Regions from separate parts of the Homo sapiens genome. Here regions 1, 2, 3, 5 and 6 are each linked to region 4. The links are contacts of gene promoters, found by promoter capture Hi-C in blood cells and fetal thymus (Javierre and others, 2016). All regions are on one chromosome and are shown on one strand. Each heading gives the region's core, a stretch centred on a gene start or on the middle of the fragment in contact. The rest is flanking DNA. Distances are from core to core; before and after follow the strand shown.

Region 1 (3,002 bases), core at 237-2,736, 170 kb before region 4:
GGCCCCTTCCTTCCAGCGCTTCCCTGGGCAGCCCAGCTGGCTTCTCTGGTCCAAGAGTTTCCAGAGGTACTCACTCTGCTCTGCTCTGTATCCTCTTTGAACCATTGCGTTCTTGTTAAAAACCCCTCATCAGGTGCCCTGGAGCAACCCCTGTCTCCTACACACTTGCTTCTGTGGTTTTGGAGTTTCTGATAAAGGGCATTAAATACACTGTTTTCATCCACAGAGGTGCTGCTGTGCTGAGGGTCCAGATGTTCTGTGATGATGCCCAAATGTAGGACTCATTCCCTCCCTAGCCTGGCATTCCACCCCATCAGAGGCCCAGTGTCCTTGGGCTGCCCTGTTCCCTTGGGTCACCAGAGGAAATGGATCTCAGTGGAGAACAAAGCTTGGTGGTGTCCTTGCCAATTGTGCAGCTGAGCCAGGCAAGCTGGGACCAGAGGAGCTCACAGAAGAGAGGCGGCCATAGCCAGCGTCCCTGCCACTTGGGTACTAGTGCCGCACTAGCTTGCTCTTCATGAGCACGGCCCAGTCCCGCTCCACAGGGTTCATTCACCCTGCAGTTGCCGAGCGCCTATTGTGAGCCAAGAACTGTGCAAACACTGGGAGACAGTGGTGAATAGGTCACGGCATTGCACTCCAGCTCCAGACTCTGACCTTCCCCAGGAAGGACAGCCCACGCCCTGTCCCAGGAAGGGCACTCCACGCTTCTGATTCTCCAGAAAAGAAAAGGGCCGGAGGACTGGAGGGGTTGCTGCCTGTCCCCTGGAGGAGCCCTGCAGTGCATCGGGCCACAGCCTGTTTTCTTTCTACCCAGGAGAGTTTGGGGAAGTGTATCGAGGGACCCTGAGGCTCCCCAGCCAGGACTGCAAGACTGTGGCCATTAAGACCTTAAAAGACACATCCCCAGGTGGCCAGTGGTGGAACTTCCTTCGAGAGGCAACTATCATGGGCCAGTTTAGCCACCCGCATATTCTGCATCTGGAAGGCGTCGTCACAAAGCGTACGATGAGTGGTCTCCCTCAGCTGGGGGCGGGAAATGCAGGAAAGAGGGGTGAAACCACTGGAAGTGGAGGGAGGATGTGTGGCCAAGGGCAGGAAGCCCGGTTCTGAGTGTGATATGTGTGTCTGTGTCTCAGGAAAGCCGATCATGATCATCACAGAATTTATGGAGAATGGAGCCCTGGATGCCTTCCTGAGGGTGAGGAGGGCAGAGGACTAGCTGGGGAGGGGGATGCACCATGGTACCCTGGGCACTGGGAGGAGACCTGGCCCATCCCCTGACTCACCCACTCACCCTGCTGCAGGAGCGGGAGGACCAGCTGGTCCCTGGGCAGCTAGTGGCCATGCTGCAGGGCATAGCATCTGGCATGAACTACCTCAGTAATCACAATTATGTCCACCGGGACCTGGCTGCCAGAAACATCTTGGTGAATCAAAACCTGTGCTGCAAGGTGTCTGACTTTGGCCTGACTCGCCTCCTGGATGACTTTGATGGCACATACGAAACCCAGGTTAGAGGCCGGTACAAACCCAGTGCACATTCACATTGCCCCGTAACATGCCATTCATACAGTCACATGTATATAGGCACAAAGACTTGGCCAGGCACGGTGGCTCACACCTGTAATCCCAGCACTTTGGGAGGCCGAGGCAGGTGGATCACAAGGTCAGGAGATCGAGACCAGCCTGGCGAACATGGTGAAACCCCGTCTCTACTAAAAATACAAAAAATTAGCTGGGCATGGTGGCAGGCGCCTGTAGTCCCAGCTACTCAGGAGGCTGAGGCAGGAGAATCGCTTGAACCTGGGAGGTGGAGGTTGCAGTGAGCCGAGATTGCGCCACTGCACTGCAGCCTAGCAACAGAGCGAGACTTTGTCTCAAAAAAAATAAAATAAAAATACAATAAAAGAAGCAGAAAGACTCGTGCTCAGGTGGACACCATAACTTTCCGTCCCTGACCCATGTGCCTTCTTAGGGAGGAAAGATCCCTATCCGTTGGACAGCCCCTGAAGCCATTGCCCATCGGATCTTCACCACAGCCAGCGATGTGTGGAGCTTTGGGATTGTGATGTGGGAGGTGCTGAGCTTTGGGGACAAGCCTTATGGGGAGATGAGCAATCAGGAGGTGAGCCCAGAATATTCTTCCTCATCTTGTCTCCAATTCACACCTCTTATTTCCTCCCAAGGTCCTCCCATGGCCTTTTCCTGCAAATATCTTTATTTATTCATGACCTTCAGTTTTTCTGTACTCCTGGCTCCTCTGGTTCTTCACCTCATGCCCTGCTCTCTTTACTCCTCCCACCCTGATCCTCCCACTGTGATCGTCCCACCCTGGTCCTCCCACCTCCTCCCATCCTAGGATCTCCACTGCAATTATCTTGTGTGACCGTCGGTTTCTCATGGGCCTCCAGGTTAGCTTGCTACTCTAGAGCATCCTCCTGTCCCGCCGTGCAGGTTATGAAGAGCATTGAGGATGGGTACCGGTTGCCCCCTCCTGTGGACTGCCCTGCCCCTCTGTATGAGCTCATGAAGAACTGCTGGGCATATGACCGTGCCCGCCGGCCACACTTCCAGAAGCTTCAGGCACATCTGGAGCAACTGCTTGCCAACCCCCACTCCCTGCGGACCATTGCCAACTTTGACCCCAGGTAACCATGCAGGGGAAGGACTAGGGAACCCAGAGGCAGCGCTAGGAGAGTGGAAATGGGCATTCAGCCAATCTTCTTTGAGCGCTGGGCCTGGGGAGCTCTGGACCAAGTCCAGTGTATGAGGCAAGACGTGCCCTTGGGGAGAGTCCAAGAGGTCAGCTTTAGATTATGCATATTTGCAGAAAATCAGTTATGGCTGGGCCCCAGTTCCCTCACTTCACCTGGGCTTGGGGGTGGGGGGCCCATCTTTTCTCTTCTCAGGCAGCCTCACCTAAGACACTCCCGGAGCCATCCTTGCCAATCCCACTGTGTTGTACTGTGGCCCATTCTTGGGATGCATCCCCTTCCCCA
Region 2 (2,824 bases), core at 325-2,824, 190 kb before region 4:
ATGTTCAAATGTGTCTGTGTCTGGGTAAGTAGATTTATAATACTTTCAAACTAGAACTTGTTAGAAAAAGATATAAATTACCCTATTACGATCCCTTTATAAATAACTTCTTCAAAGCAAAATGTAAAAGAAATCCAATCTGTGCCCAATTAAGAGGTCCCATACTTATCAAATACTTCTTTTACAAGACAACAATATAATATTACCTCCTGACAACAGAACCAGTAACTTCAAATAGTAAGCATGGGTTATGCCGATCTTCTTCCCAACCCTCTGTAGAAGTTACAAGAACTCCTAGCCTAGCTAGAAATAAAACTGAATGTTTTTCAAATAAATTATGCTTGCTTAATGCAGAAGACAGAGCTGATAGTTTATTTCAGCCCTCTCTTCTCGCAGGCTAGCTAAATTAAAATGGACTTCAAGACATGGCTGATTTATCACTTTCTCTTTCCCTCCTGAGCTCCAACCAGTACACTTTTTGACAAGGACCAAGCTATCGCTGTGCTCCCGGGGGATTCCAGTATTTAACACTTGTCTCAACCTGTTCTTATTAAATTTCTGTCATGCCCCAGTTCACTGAGACACATTTGTTCTCTTCCTTTCCCTCCCTCACTTCTACCAGCCCAAGCATTAAGGCAGCGTATTAACTTCTCAGGTTAGCAACACTATCTTCTCAGGCAGTCAAGCAAACAAGTTCAGGTGGAAACACAATGATTTCTCATGAGACGCGCACAAATATCATCGTAAGATATTTGAGTCACAGCCACTTCACATGACTAACCCCTCCACATTTTCATTTCATGACTCAAGAAATCAAATGAAATATTAGAACAATTGGGAATGGTTTTATTTGTACTTTGGTATGAGATATGTGCGGAATGGGGGTAAGGAAGGTATTGAGATAAAGGCTTGTATCTGAATACACACTTGGATATAATGCACAACCCTGTGTGAATTCCCGTTTGACTCCCTTTTTCTCTCCCAACAGCTCCAGAAACGAGCCCATCTCACTCCCTGTGGCTGCTACCATCCACCCTTCAACTTCAGCTTCCCCTTCCACGTGTCCCATCACTAGAATGCAATGCAGGTTCACAGCTTGTCAACTACCTTCTTGTCTCTAAAACAAAGAGAATGATTTAGAGGATGTTAATACTGCAGAGATACATTTAAAAAAAATCAGCACAGGGAGAATTGCCATATGTCCTGAAAATGTTAGAGTGGTATTTATTTTATTTTCATATTGCATCATAATGTAAATGGGTCGAAAGTGATCTCTCTTAGCATCTTTTTTTTTTTTTTTTGAGATGGAGTTTTGCTCGTTGCCCAGGCTGGAGTGCAGTGGCACAATCTCAGCTCACTGCAACCTCCGCCTCCTGGGTTCAAGCAATTCTCCTGCCTCAGCCTCCTGAGTAGCTGGGATTATAGGCGCCCGCCACCACACCCGGCTCTCTTACCTTTTTCTTTAGTTTTCTCTTGCCTCTTCTTGAGATTGAAGCTTCATCCAAACATCCCTTTTAATCCAGAGGCTGGTGCTACTTTCAGCAGACTTTATCCTTAATTCCCTCAAACCCATCTTGCAAATAAACCTGTACAGGAGGACACAAAAATAAAAAACATGTATCCTTAAATTGCATGGTGCCACCAGAAGCTTTTGCTTGTACACTTTCTCATATTTGTACTTTTCTCATATACTATGACCAACAACATTATCATCATTTCCCCCATTTTGCAGATGAGGAAGCGGAGTCTCAAAACAGCTAGGTGATTTGCCCAAGATCACTTGGCTATGAAGTGACAATATTAAAATCTTCTAAAATATAACTTTGCTTTTGACACTTCAGAGAAAACTTCCAACCGCCTCTATCTCAAAACAGTTCTATTTCTAGCAAGAAGACAGATTCCTAAACAGTATCGGGTGTCTTCCTCTTAGCAAACTGACTGGAAGAAGGGAGGACATGCAGGGTTTAAGGGGGAGGGTGTATAATTGGGACCTGTGGCACTGCTTACAGACCGCCTCTGCATACTTTTAATCAATTAAAAAGTTGTTAGGAGGCTGGGTGTCATGGCTCACTCCTGTAATTTCAGCACTTTGGGAGGCCAAGACGGGCAGATTACTTGAGATCAGGAGTTTGAGACCAGCCTGGCCAACATGGTGAAACCCCGTCTCTACTAAAAATACAAAAATTAGCCGGGCATGGTGGCAGGTACCTGTAATCCCAGCTACTCAGGAGGCTGAAGCAGGAGAATCGCTTGAACCTGGGAGGCAGAGGTTGCAGTGAGCCGAGATCATTCCACTGCACTTCAGCCTGGGCAACAGAGTGAGACTCCATCTCAAAAAAGAAAAAAAAAGAATCATTTGGGTTAGCAAAAGTCTAGTTTAAAAAAGGAAGTACGGCCGGGCGCAGTGGCTCATGCCTGTAATCCCAGCACTTTGGGAGGCCGAGGCGGGCAGATCACGAGGTCAGGAGATGGAGACCATCCTGGCTAACACGGTGAAACCCCGTCTCTACTAAAAATACAAAAAATTAGCCGGGCGTGGTGGTGGGCGCCTGTAGTCCCAGCTATTCGGGAGGCTGAGGCAGGAGAATGACGTAACCCGGGAGGCGGAGCTTGCAGTGAGCCGAGATTGCGCCAGTGCACTCCAGCCTGGGCGACAGAGCGAGACTCCACCTGAAAAAAAAAAAAAAAAAAAAAAAAAAAAAAAAAAAAAGGAAGTACGTTTTGTTTGGAAAGATTAAACCTCTCAGAGACACAGATAAGCCGGATAAACCATGAAAGTCGCTCAATGTAGCAATTCAAAGGTAGAACCTAAACCTGTTTAACC
Region 3 (2,867 bases), core at 137-2,636, 240 kb after region 4:
AGGAGACTCCTCAACCACCATGGACACTCGAGTTGGCAGGGAGCACTACTTAGAGAAGCGGTACAGGCAGCAAGCCAGCTGATGTGGAGCCTGAGGGTTTGATGTGGGAGTGTCTGCAGTGGTGCACCTCCAGGGATGGCCATCCCCCAGGCCTGACTTGCTCCCATAGGAGACTTTAACCCTAGGGGAACTGTCGGACCTGATCTTTCAGGATGGTCTTGCCCATCAGACCAGGCTGGTCCAACCTGAACACCCCTTGGTCTACTGGCCTCTCCTAGGGCCCTAGCCAGGCCACACCTTCTTGCAGGGCAATCTCCAGTGCCCTGGGGGCCCACCACAATAGCTTCTGTGCTGGTGGACTGTGCCTCATCAGTGGACAGCTCCAGCTGGGTGGCTCCATGGCCACACACAAGCCTACCATTCCCTCCCATACTGAAGCTTCCTCCAGGCACATAGCAACTCCCCACATCACTTTGCTGGCACATGCCAACATGAGTGGAAGGGGTTTGTTTTCTTTGCCCTGTCAGTGGAGGGGAGAGCAGTCTGCTCTACTTCCCTTTGCAGGCTGCCATTGCAGATGGAACCTTGGTGGGCACAGAGTCAGAAGCCCCACCCCTGCCAGTGCCTGGCCCCGAACTAACACTGTGCAGAGAACAGCACATCCTCCTCCACCCTGAACAATCACTCCTGCTTGTGGGGCATAGAGAAGGCACCCTGCACCAGCCAACACCCCACACCAGACCCAACACTACCTCCAGTGCAACTATACACAGTGTCCAGCAGGGTGCCTCACCCCACTGTCCCCCACCCCAGCTGCATTGCCTCTGTCACTGTGGTGAACAACTGCAAGGAGGCAGGCACTTGGCACCCACTAGCACTCTGCCACAGCTGCTGCACCTCACTGCACTACCCCCACCACCAGCACACTGCATGCCATGCCTCAAAGAGCCAGAGAACAAAACTGGGGCCTAATGCAAGTCCTCCAGTTAGAGAACACAGTATAGGAGTTGGAGCTAAGCATTGGCTTCCTAAAATCCTTCAGAAATGAAGCTAGTTCACTGAACCCACCTTATACCACAATCAGACCCTCAAGGTCATCAAATAGGTTTTAAAAAAAAAAAAATCCAAAGGTCAACAACCTCAAAGATTGAAGGTAGATAAGCCCACAAAGATGAGAAAAAAAACCTGATGGAAGAACACTCAAAACTTGAATAAAAATAAAAGAAAAACTGCAGTCCCTTCTTTCCTCCAAATGACCACATCACCTCTCCAGCAAGCATTCTGAACTGGGCTGCCATGGATGAAATGACAGAAATAGAATTCAGAATATGGATAGAAATGAAGATCATTGAGATACAAGAATATGTTGAAACCCAATTCAAGGAAGCTGAAAACCATGATAAAACAATGCAGGAGCTGACAGACAAAATAGCCAGTATAGAAAAGAATATAACTAAGCTGATAGAGCTGAAAAACACACTATGAGAATTTCATAATGTAATCACAAGTATTAGTAGAAGAATAGACCATGTGGAAGAAAGAATCTCAGAACTTGAAGACTGGCTTTCTGAAATAAGATAGTCAGACAAAAATGGAGAAAAAAGAATGAAAAGGAATGAACAAAACCTCTGAGAAATATAAGATTACGTAAAGAGATTGAGTAACTCATCATTGTCCCTGAAAGACACTGGGGAGAATGGAACCAACTTAGACAATGTATTTCAGGATATAATCCTTGAGAACTTCTCCAACCTAGCTAGAGAGGCCAACATTCAAATTCAGGAAATGCAGAAAACTCCAGTAAGATGCTACTCAAGAAGAACATCCCCAAGACGTGTAATCATCAGATTCTCCAAGGTCAAAATGTTAAAGGCAGCTATAGAGAAAGGTCAGGTCACCTACAAAGTGAATCCCATCAGACTAACAGTGGACCTCTTGGCTGGGTGCGGTGGCTCATGCCTGTAATCCCAGCACTTTGGGAGGCCAAGGCAGGTGGATTACCTGAGGTCCGGAGTTCAAGAGCAGCCTGGCCAACATGGCAAAACCCCATCTCTACTAAAAATATAAAATTTAGCTGGGCATGGTGGTGTGCACCTGTAATCCTAGCTACCCAAGAGGCTGAGGCAGGAGAATCACTGGAACCTGGGGGGGCAGAGGCTGCAGTGAGCCGAGATTGCACCACTGCACTCCAGCCTGGGCAACAGAGCAAGACTCCATCTCAAAAACAAAACAAAACAAAACAGTGAACCTCTCAGCAGAAACTTTACAAGCCAGAGGAGATTGGGGGCAAGAAATTCCAAACCAGAATGTCATATCTGGCTAAACTAAGCTTCATAAGCAGAGAAATAAGATCCTTTCCAGACAAGCAAATGCTGAGGGAATTTGTTACCAACAGATGTGACTTACAAGAGCTCCTGAAGGAAGCACTAAATATGGAAAGGAAAGACTGTTGCCAGCCCCTACAAAACACAATGAAGTACACAGACCAGTGACACTATAAAGCAACCACATAAACAAGTCAGCAAAATAATCAACTAACATCATGATGGAAGGATCAAATTCATACATATCAACATTAACCTTAAAAGTAAATGGGCTAAATACCCTAATTAAAAGACTGGAAGCTGGATAAAAGAACTATGACCCATTGGTATGCTGTCTTCAAGAGACCCATTTTACATGCAATGACATACATAGGCTCAAAATAAAGGGATGGAGAAAAGTCTACCAAGACAATGGAAAACAGAAAAAAACAGGGATTGCAATCCTTGTTTCTGACAAAACAGACTTTAAACCAACAAAAACAAAAAAAGACAAAGAAGGACATTATATAATGGTAAAGGGTTCAAGTCAACAGGAAAAGCTAT
Region 4 (2,919 bases), core at 329-2,828:
CACCCTTTACTTTCCTCGGAACTCTGCAGCACTTGATAATTTCCAGCAGCCTTTCTTTCCTGAATCTTCTTTTTCTGTAGCCACTCTGGTTTCCCTTCTACCCCGTGGACTGAGTGCTGTGCTCTGCTTCACCAGCCCTAACTGTGTGTTAGTTGGGTGTCTTAAGTAGGATGATCATGTAATTCTTCATCCAGACCATGATATTCTTGAGAATTAAAGGATGCTCAATTGACAACAGACAATAAACAGAGATTGTCCCTGGCAAACCGATATGTCTGGCCACCCTCTCCTTAAGGCTCAGGAGGAGAAGAAAGTGGAGAGATCTCAGGGCAGGATATGAATGAACATAGTTCAAGGAGCTTTCAAAGTCCATCTTCAGGTTTCTTAGTTACTTCTGTTTAGAATCTCAAGTTAAAAATTCAGCTTCATATTTATAAAAGGATCACGTTATCTGAGAAGTGTCAGAGCAGGTTTGGGAGAGAAGAGACGGGTGAGGAGAGAGTTCTACCTGAGGCAAAGGCAGAAGTGGTTGGACCAGGTCCCGCAGAACTCCGTGAGTTCCAGTCACAGAGTCTGCCCTTTTAGGTAAAGAGGAACTTGGTGCTGAAACCGCTTCCAGGCTCTTCTCAGCCCAGGGTTGCCCAAGATCAGTTGTACTGAGTGGCCGGCAGGGTAGGCAGCCATGATGATCTTGCACAAAATATTCCAGGAACTGTAAGTGTCAAAGATGTTGGACGTGGAAAGAAATAGAGCAATTGCATTGAAAATGTAGAGGATGAGAAAGTAGCTGGTGGCTTTGATGGCCCCTATGTGAGCCTTCATGCTGGGGTCCCTGGACCCTGTGGCATTGCTTCCCATGTGTAGGGTGTGTCTCTTGAGAGAGAGGATCAGCAGGGTGGCTGCCAGGATGAACATGATCAGAGGAACGAAGATCCCCATGTTATAGAAAAATACCAGGTTGACCATATTGGTCTCAGAGAAGTACTTCTTCTCCGTGGAGTTGGAGGAGGGGATAGGAATGGAGCTATTCACATACACATTGAAGACATCTCTCGAGAGAGGAAAGCTGAAGCTTAAGGAAACCAACACTGACAGCCTGAGAAGCCAAGGCATCAGCACTATGATTTTCCTCTTCATCAGGAAGAACAAAGGATGATTGAAGTTTGCAATTCTAAGACAATAGAAGACTTTGAGCCAGGCAGCAAACCAGAGATTGGAATGGTTCAGAAAGACAGTGATGACTTTGAAGAGGATATACACTGAGTTTTGGTTATAAACAATTCGGAATAGCAGACTGAAAATGTTCTCCAGCATCATCCAAATCTGTAGCAAGAGCCTGGAAAAGCTCAGCATCAACATAATGCGGTCACCAGTGGGGAGTGTTTTGCCCCTGGCCCACTCAGCCCCATAGATGGCCGTGATGAAGCCACTCCCAAGGATGCCAGTGATGCACTCTATTCCGGAGACCACCAAAGTGAAGGTGACCTTGAACTTGGATATGTCTTTATCTGTGGCATCTGTGTTCACCGTTGCCATTCTCTTTGATCCTGACTTTCAGGTTTCTGCGCCAAGAATGGGTAACTGCTCTGCAATCTTCTGACCCTTGCTCAATGTTATAATTTCTGCCGCCCTCATTAATGGTTATTTCCAATTTTTCTCCATTTGTTTATCACATGACTACAAGTTAGAGGCTTCACATGCAAATAATGAGAGGATCTGGTTACTGGGTCTGTCTCAATTTTTCATAAAGATACATTTGTCTTGGGCTTTCAGAAGCTCACTGGAAATAATTTGAGACATGTTTCTAGCTCAACACCTTCTTACCTTATTTACTTTAAGTCCACATTTACCTGATAAGCAATGAATACAAGGCCTTTTTACTTGTCTCACAAGATCTCTGTTACCTGCTAAATTATTTGTAAAAGCTCATACAGCTTTTAAAATCTGTTTTCCCCACTTCTTTTCTTGTCTCTCTTATTTTGGGAGAGAGTTTTATTTTGATAGTTACCATGTTTGTGAATAAGAAATTCCCATAAGCTCATATATGAACATCTTTTACTTAGAATTGAGTTTCTTCCAAAAAGGCCTGCTATTATAATGTCCTCGAATAGTATATAGAAAAGCCAAAATTGGATGCTATTCGAGTTGGAGAGAAGGAAGTCTCCATAGTCCCAGTTTTTATTGTTTGTGTATGTGTCATCAATTTCAGCTTACTGAGATCCCACATGACTATTTGAGCTCAGAATCAGGTAGAATGAGCCTGGGGAGAATTCAGTGTTCTGGACATGGTGTTGAAGTTTGGAAATGTGATAAGGTACTATGACTTGAAATTTAATTTCCTACTTTTTAACCCTGGCTGTGAACCAGAATGAACTCTGGCACTTTACAAGAATATGTAGATGCCCAGGACTCGTCCAAATCTAGGAAATCAGAACTGGACTAGGGCTCAGGCATGCTATCTTTTAAAAAAGCCGAAAGGTCTTGTTGCTCATAGTCAGGATTGAGATCCAAAATCTTAGCTGGAAACCAATGAGCCTTGGGTCAGATTTGGCCTGTAGTCATTTTACCTTGCATTGGTTAATGCTGTACAGCATTAATCCACCAGTGTGTAACTTTTCTTTTTGAGGGGTTCTATTGGCAAACATTTAAACTTAGGAGATTACTTATATGCATGCACAAAAAATCTATCTTCTCTTGAAAAATTAGAAGATTTGGCAGTATTGGGTCTTCATAGTGAACTGGCTGAAGCTGAGTAATGGCTGCCCATTTTAAACAAGGTATATACTTTTCAGTTTGTTGACAATACTAATTCCTAGTGTCTTCTTGACACAGAAGCTGAGTGCCAGTTATCATTTTCCAGTGTGCTTACCCTGTTATTTTTATTTGATTATTTTTCTTTTTGAGACTGGGTCTCACTCT
Region 5 (2,784 bases), core at 243-2,742, 150 kb before region 4:
CTGGAGTGCAGTGGCACAATGTCGGCTCAACTGCAACCTCCGCCTCCCGGGTTCAAGCGATTCTCCTGCCTCAGCCTCCCAAGTAGGTGGGATTACAGGTGCCCACCACGACACCTGGTTAATTTTTGTATTTTTAGTAGAGACGAGGTTTCACCATGTCGGCGAGGCTGGTCTCGAACTACTGATCTCAGATGATCCGCCTGTCTCAGCCTCCCAAAGTGCTGGGATTACAGGCATGAGCCACTGTGCCAGGCCTTAAAAATTATTAATGAGGTATTTTACTTTTTTGGCACTAAGTCATGGGAATTTGGTGTGTATTTTACACTTACAGCATGTCTCAATTCACGCTAGTCCCATTGCAGGTGCTCAAAGGTTACACATTGCTGGTGGCTCCCACATTGCATAGCAAGTTCTAAATAGACCCTGAGCCATCTCTGTACAATCCTAATTTTAAGCCACACTTTCTCCAACCAGCTCCTTCTATTTTTCTAGTCATTCTCTTTTTGTGCTTCGACAATCCCTTGGCCCACTGGAACTTGCCATTCACGTCCATACCAGCTCACATTTCCTGGACAATCATTACAGTCACTCCCTTACATCTGTCTCAACTTCCTGTGCCTCTTTCTCACCCTGTGGTGCTCACTTGGCAAAACCCCAGCCTGGGCTGAGTCCAATTCTACCAACTCCATGCCTGCACCCACACAGCTGGGTGGCACTACAGAAAAACATACAGCCCTTCTGACAGATCTCATTGTAAACTCCATGGCTGTGAGCTGCAGATGCCATCTGACCTTTCTACGTCCTGATAAACATACCAGTCTCGTTTTTCCATCCACTCTCCCACTCTGACTCTCTCAGAAGGCTTCTAGACCTTCTCCTCTCTCTCCACATCTCCTTCCACATCCTCATGCATAGCTGATGCCTTGCTTCCTGTTGCAAGGAGAAAATTAAACAAATTGAAAAAAAACCTTTCCTAGGCTCTACCTACATCAAATCAAACTAATCCCACATGCTCTCTGGCCTCATCTCCCAGCAATCATTTTGCCTCAGCCACAATGGCCTTGTTACTGTTCCTCCAATGTGTAAGGCACATTCCCATCTCAGGGCCTTGCATTTGCTAGTTTCTCTGCTGGGAAGGTTCTTCCACAGACATCTGTATGGATCACCCCATTATCTCCATCATAGCCTTCCTCACATGCTGACCTCTCAGTGAGGCCTCCCATGACCATCCAGTTTAGAATGACATATACCAGCCCTTTCATTATTATCCACCTCTCCTTTCTTTTTTTCTTTTCTTTTTTTTTTTTTTTTTTTTTTTGAGACAGGGTCTTGCGGTGTTGCCCAGGCTGGAGTGCAATGGCATAATCATGGCCCACTGCAGCCTCTACCTCCCAGGCCCAAGCAATCCTCTCATCTCAGCTTCTCAAGTAGCTGGGACCACAGGCATGTGCCACCAGGCCTGGCTAATTTTCTTTTTCTTTTTGTAAAGACAAGGTCTCCATATGTTGCCCAGGCTGGTCTTGAACACCTGAGCTCAAGCAATCCTCTCACATCAGCCTCCCAAAGTGCTGGGATTACAGGCATGAGCCACCACGCCTGGCCCTTCCTTAATTTTTCTTCATAGTAATTATCACCTTAAATATATCATTCCATCCTGGGTTTTGGCACTCCCCCACCAAACAATTCAGTCTCTTAATTGTTGTATTGCTGTTTCTGCCCCACCACTTCTCACTAGACTATAAGCTCCGTGACAGCAGGAGTTTTGGATCGTAGAACCTAGAGAGGTACTGACATAGAGTAGGTAGGTGCTCCTTAAATACCTGTAATATGGAATGAATGAATGAATAATGGAAAAAACTAACAAAAAAAGACAAAGAAGGAGCAGCCGGAAAGTCAAGAGGAGAACCAAGAAAGAGTGTTTGGGAATGAGGGAGTAACCATGAGTCCCTCACGAGGGTATGAAATGCCCCTGATGTGCCACTTAAGGTTAGAAATGAACAAAATCTGTTAACATGGAGGCTAAGGGTGTTACTGGAAAGAAGTCCCAATCCAGACCCCAAGAGAGGGTTCTTGGATCTCGCACAAGAAGGAACTCAGGGCGAGTCCATAGAGGAAAGTAAAAGCAAGTTTATTAGGAAAATAAAGGAATAAAGAATGGCTACTACACACACAGAGCAGCCCTGAGGGCTGCTGGTTGCCCATTTTCATGTGTGTGTATTTTTTTAAATTATATGCTAAACAAGGGGTAGGTTATTCATACCTCCCCATTTTAGACCATAAGGTAACTTCCTGAGGTCGCCATGGCATTTGTTGGCGCTGGTGGGAGGGTAGCAGTGAAGACCAGAGGTTACTCTCGTCGCCATTTCGGTTTTGGCGGGTTTTAGTCAGCTTCTTTACTGCAACCTGTTTTATCAGCAAGATCTTTATGACCTATGTCTTGTGCTAACTTTTTATCTCATCCTGTGACTTAGAATGCCATAACCGTCTGGGAACACAGCCCAGCAGGTCTTAGCCTTGTTTTACCCAGCTCCTATTCAAGATGGAGTTGCTCTGGTTCAATTGCCTCTGACAGGGGAGCCCCCCGTGTGAGCTGCTTCAGTAGAGTGAAGATGCCAGATTGGGTAAGTTGAGGAGTGCAGAGAAGTAAGGAAATGGAGAAGATGAGTGCCGGCAGCTCTTTCAAAAATTTTGGCTGTGAGAGAAACTAGAGCTCCAGGAAGAGAAAGATCAAGGGGCAAATTCCAGCTCCCACCTTAGAAGGAAGACATTGCTTGCATTCCTTGG
Region 6 (3,046 bases), core at 128-2,627, 170 kb after region 4:
AGGTAGGAAGACAGGTCCTGGGCAGAGCAGGGCTGGAGGCAGGGGCTTGGGAATTGAAAGGCAGGAGCATAGGTCGGGGCTACATGGGCCTTCATGACTATTCATTTTCTATTGCTTCTGTAGCCAATTACCACAAATTTTGTAGCTTAAACAACACAAATTTATTACCTGACAAATTCTCCAGGTCAGTAACTTGACCAGGCCTCAATGAGCTAAAATCAAGGCGTCATCAGGGCTGCCTTCCTTTCTGGAGTCTCCTTGCTTTTCCACCTTCTAGAAGCTGCCCACATTCCTTGGCTTATTGTTCCCTCGTCCATCTTCAAAGCCAGTCACATGTGTCTCTCAGAACCGTCTTCTGTCATCACTTAGCCCTCTGACTGAACTCAGAGGAGAAGTTTCTCCACTTTTACAAATCCCTAAGATTAGATTCAGCCCATCTGGATCACCCCTAAGATTAGATTCAGCCCACCTGGATCGCCCAGGCTAATCCCCTCATCTCAAGGTCTTCAACCCAATCACACCTGCAAAGTCCCCTTTCCTATGTAAAGCAACATTTCACAAATTCCAAGGATTAGGGCTTGGACATCGTTGAGGGGGCATTCCTCTGCCTATCGCAATGACTACCATGCAGCTTTGGTGCCTGGTGAACCACTTATTTGACCAGATCCATTCATCTTTACACAATTGTGTTCATTCCTTAATAAATATGTAGCGTCAACTCGGTTAAATGATCATAACATAGAGCAGGCTCCATAATCCAGGAGCATAATCCTAAATCTGTCCTTATTTCCTTTGGGATTAAAGGCATGTGGAGCAATGTTAATTCTTGTTTCCTTTCTAGCCTTCCCAGAGAGAAAGAGCTAGGATTGAAACAGCGAGGGGAACTACTCTAGTGCCACTCAATTCTGTCTCCTGGGCTTCCCAGGCTTTGAGGAACTGCCCCATTTCCTTTTGGTTAACTTCTTCTTTCACTTGATGAGATTAATGGGAAATGCAGTCATTTACATGGTTGAATTGATGAAGTCTTCAGTCTCCCGGGGATTTCTTCCTCAGTCAACTCTTCATCTTTTCACACAGTCTATTAATGGACATTTCCATTGTTATTGCTTCTTTGATCCAGATTGATTCCTACTCCAGTATCCCCTCAGCCTCTGGCCAAAAAATAATCCTTCTCCACTCATGCCTCCCATTTCACCTGTGTGGTGATTGACTATGACAGCTGCTTGTTTCTCTACGTGAAACCCAAGCAAATTTGGGCAGCAGAATAAAACAAGGTAGTTTTCCTGTTTATTTTCCTGTTGACCCCCTTTCTGAACCTTCTTACAGGTCAGATTTACTGACCTAAATCAGTTTTAGGTGGGCCAGTCCTCATGGATTCTAAGGTAATCTGGAAAATACTAACAAATATCTAAGCTAAAGCATCTTTATTTTCATCATCAAACCATATGTAATTATCACACTCAGGCCCTTGGAAGTGGGCAAAATACACAAACATAAAAACCAACCTGCTTATCAGTAACTGATAATCTGAGCTACTTCTTGTTTCAGTTGTTTTGTAATAAAATTATTGTTTTGTTTTTGAAAATCTGAAGAAGAAAATGCCTGAAGTCGGGGAAGAGCTTGAGAAAGGAGCTGTATATGTTCCTGGGGGCGTTAGATTGCACTGTAATCATCTCTGAATGTGCATTTCCAGAAGAGGAAGAGAGTCCAGGGACTACAATAAAAATGTCAGCACCTCTGCTCAGATCTGCCCTACTGTTTCCTGGGATATGTTGACATTTTGACTTGCATTATTAGACTCAATCTCATAAAGCTGTGCCTGGCCATTAGGTGAGACACAGATTACTCCCTGGTGTACTCTTTTTCTTGGATGTGCCATATCTAATCTTGGCCCATTGCTACTACAAAGCAACTCTTTTTCTCTACATTTTGGCATAAAGCCAACTTGGAGTGGCACGAGGACAATATGTTTAGAAAGGGGTGGATGGAATGTTTGAACATGTTTGGTGGTAGGGACAGAAGAAAATTTATGATCAAATTTTTGGCAACTATTTAACTCATCTCGTTTTGTTCATGGTAAAGGAAGGAGGTAAGGAAGGATTGAATGGCTCACTCTAGATGCCTGAATTTTTTCTTTATATGCTACAGGAATCCTTTGTTTTCATGATGTGCTCTGCCTCCCAAAGCCAGATATCCTCTGACTGGGGGCTTTTCTGCCCCAATCTCCAGCTGTCTTCTATGACATCTCTGCAGATTTTCACTGCTGGCAGAGTTGAGAGTGGGAGTTTCCTCCCTCAATTCTGACTTACTAACAAATCAGGGGATGGGGTAGCTCCCTATTAATGCACAGAAATATGTAACTGCTAGATTTTCAGACAGATTGGAGGAAGAAATTATCTCACATGATAATACCTGTAGGCTGGAATCAGACAGAAAATAGTTTTCTTGAGAATTGATGTGGGTCACCTGGAGAATTGAAGAGTCTAGCAAGAGGGCACTTGCCTGGTGGTGGATGGAGATAGGAGCTGAATTAGGGCCCCTGAGTAAAATTGTGTGGCTTGTAGACTGTACAAAGGTGGTGATGGAGAGACTGAAGGGGCACATGGGGGCTGAAGGAGCTGCATCTACCTGATGGAAAGGGGCACCCATTTTATGCACAAAGATGATACACAGTACTTGTGCCAAAATGTCTTGCTTTATCCTCCCAACTGATCCCAGACAGTTTGCTTAGATGTCTAAAACAAATACAAATCATAGGCTTTATTTGATCTACTTGTCAAATAAGATTGTCACAGATGTCACATATGGTCACTTTTGCCATACTTTTATGAGTCCAAGCAACACAAGATTCAAGAGGCAGGGGCATAGAGCCATATCTTTTTTTTTTTTTTTTTTTTGAGACAGAGTCTCACTCTGTCACCAGGCTGGAATGCAGTGGTGTGATCTCAGCTCACTGCAACCTCCGCCTCCCAGGTTCAAGTGATTCTCCTGCCTCAGCCTCCTGAATATCTGGGATTACAGGCATGCACCAACATACCCAGGTAAT

Evidence for each region. Contacts are between HindIII fragments. The CHiCAGO score rates a contact against its expected background, and 5 or more counts as called.
Region 1: a contact is called between a fragment that was not itself captured here and the fragment with the promoter of TAS2R40 in region 4, in 1 of 17 cell types (neutrophils). The highest score is 5.0, in neutrophils.
Region 2: a contact is called between a fragment that was not itself captured here and the fragment with the promoter of TAS2R40 in region 4, in 9 of 17 cell types (M0 macrophages, neutrophils, total CD8 T cells and 6 more). The highest score is 8.1, in M0 macrophages.
Region 3: a contact is called between a fragment that was not itself captured here and the fragment with the promoter of TAS2R40 in region 4, in 6 of 17 cell types (naive B cells, M0 macrophages, M1 macrophages and 3 more). The highest score is 11.2, in naive B cells.
Region 5: a contact is called between a fragment that was not itself captured here and the fragment with the promoter of TAS2R40 in region 4, in 1 of 17 cell types (neutrophils). The highest score is 7.2, in neutrophils.
Region 6: a fragment that was not itself captured here is called in contact with the fragment with the promoter of TAS2R40 in region 4 in 3 of 17 cell types (M0 macrophages, M1 macrophages and M2 macrophages); the score reaches 7.3 in M0 macrophages.

Annotation. Positions count from the first base shown.
Region 1 is chr7:143,393,320-143,396,321 of GRCh38, reverse strand. EPHA1 (EPH receptor A1) reads left to right here. Exons shown (of 18, transcript NM_005232.5): 12 at 818-1,003; 13 at 1,140-1,201; 14 at 1,308-1,514; 15 at 1,979-2,128; 16 at 2,458-2,651. Among named protein-coding and RNA genes, the nearest start is that of MIR6892, 12 kb to the right of the region's middle. RefSeq lists a silencer at 1-166 and enhancers at 104-814, 2,552-2,846. The HindIII fragment of the contact is 2,192 bases long and covers 391-2,582 here.
Region 2 is chr7:143,413,830-143,416,653 of GRCh38, reverse strand. EPHA1-AS1 (EPHA1 antisense RNA 1) reads right to left here. Exons shown (of 5, transcript NR_033897.1): 2 at 1,455-1,586. Among named protein-coding and RNA genes, the nearest start is that of EPHA1, 6.4 kb to the right of the region's middle. The HindIII fragment of the contact is 153 bases long and covers 1,498-1,650 here.
Region 3 is chr7:142,981,952-142,984,818 of GRCh38, reverse strand. No RefSeq gene overlaps it. Among named protein-coding and RNA genes, the nearest start is that of KEL, 21 kb to the right of the region's middle. The HindIII fragment of the contact is 1,891 bases long and covers 441-2,331 here.
Region 4 is chr7:143,220,696-143,223,614 of GRCh38, reverse strand. It overlaps TAS2R40 (taste 2 receptor member 40), which reads right to left and starts at 1,578. Exons shown (of 1, transcript NM_176882.2): 1 at 536-1,578. The coding sequence starts at 1,536. The coding sequence ends at 565. The HindIII fragment of the contact is 3,585 bases long and covers 1,075-2,919 here.
Region 5 is chr7:143,370,148-143,372,931 of GRCh38, reverse strand. It overlaps a transcript of FAM131B not described here. Among named protein-coding and RNA genes, the nearest start is that of FAM131B, 8.8 kb to the right of the region's middle. The HindIII fragment of the contact is 7,431 bases long and covers 1-2,784 here.
Region 6 is chr7:143,045,414-143,048,459 of GRCh38, reverse strand. It overlaps the pseudogene OR9P1P. Among named protein-coding and RNA genes, the nearest start is that of OR6V1, 5.4 kb to the left of the region's middle. The HindIII fragment of the contact is 4,018 bases long and covers 1-3,046 here.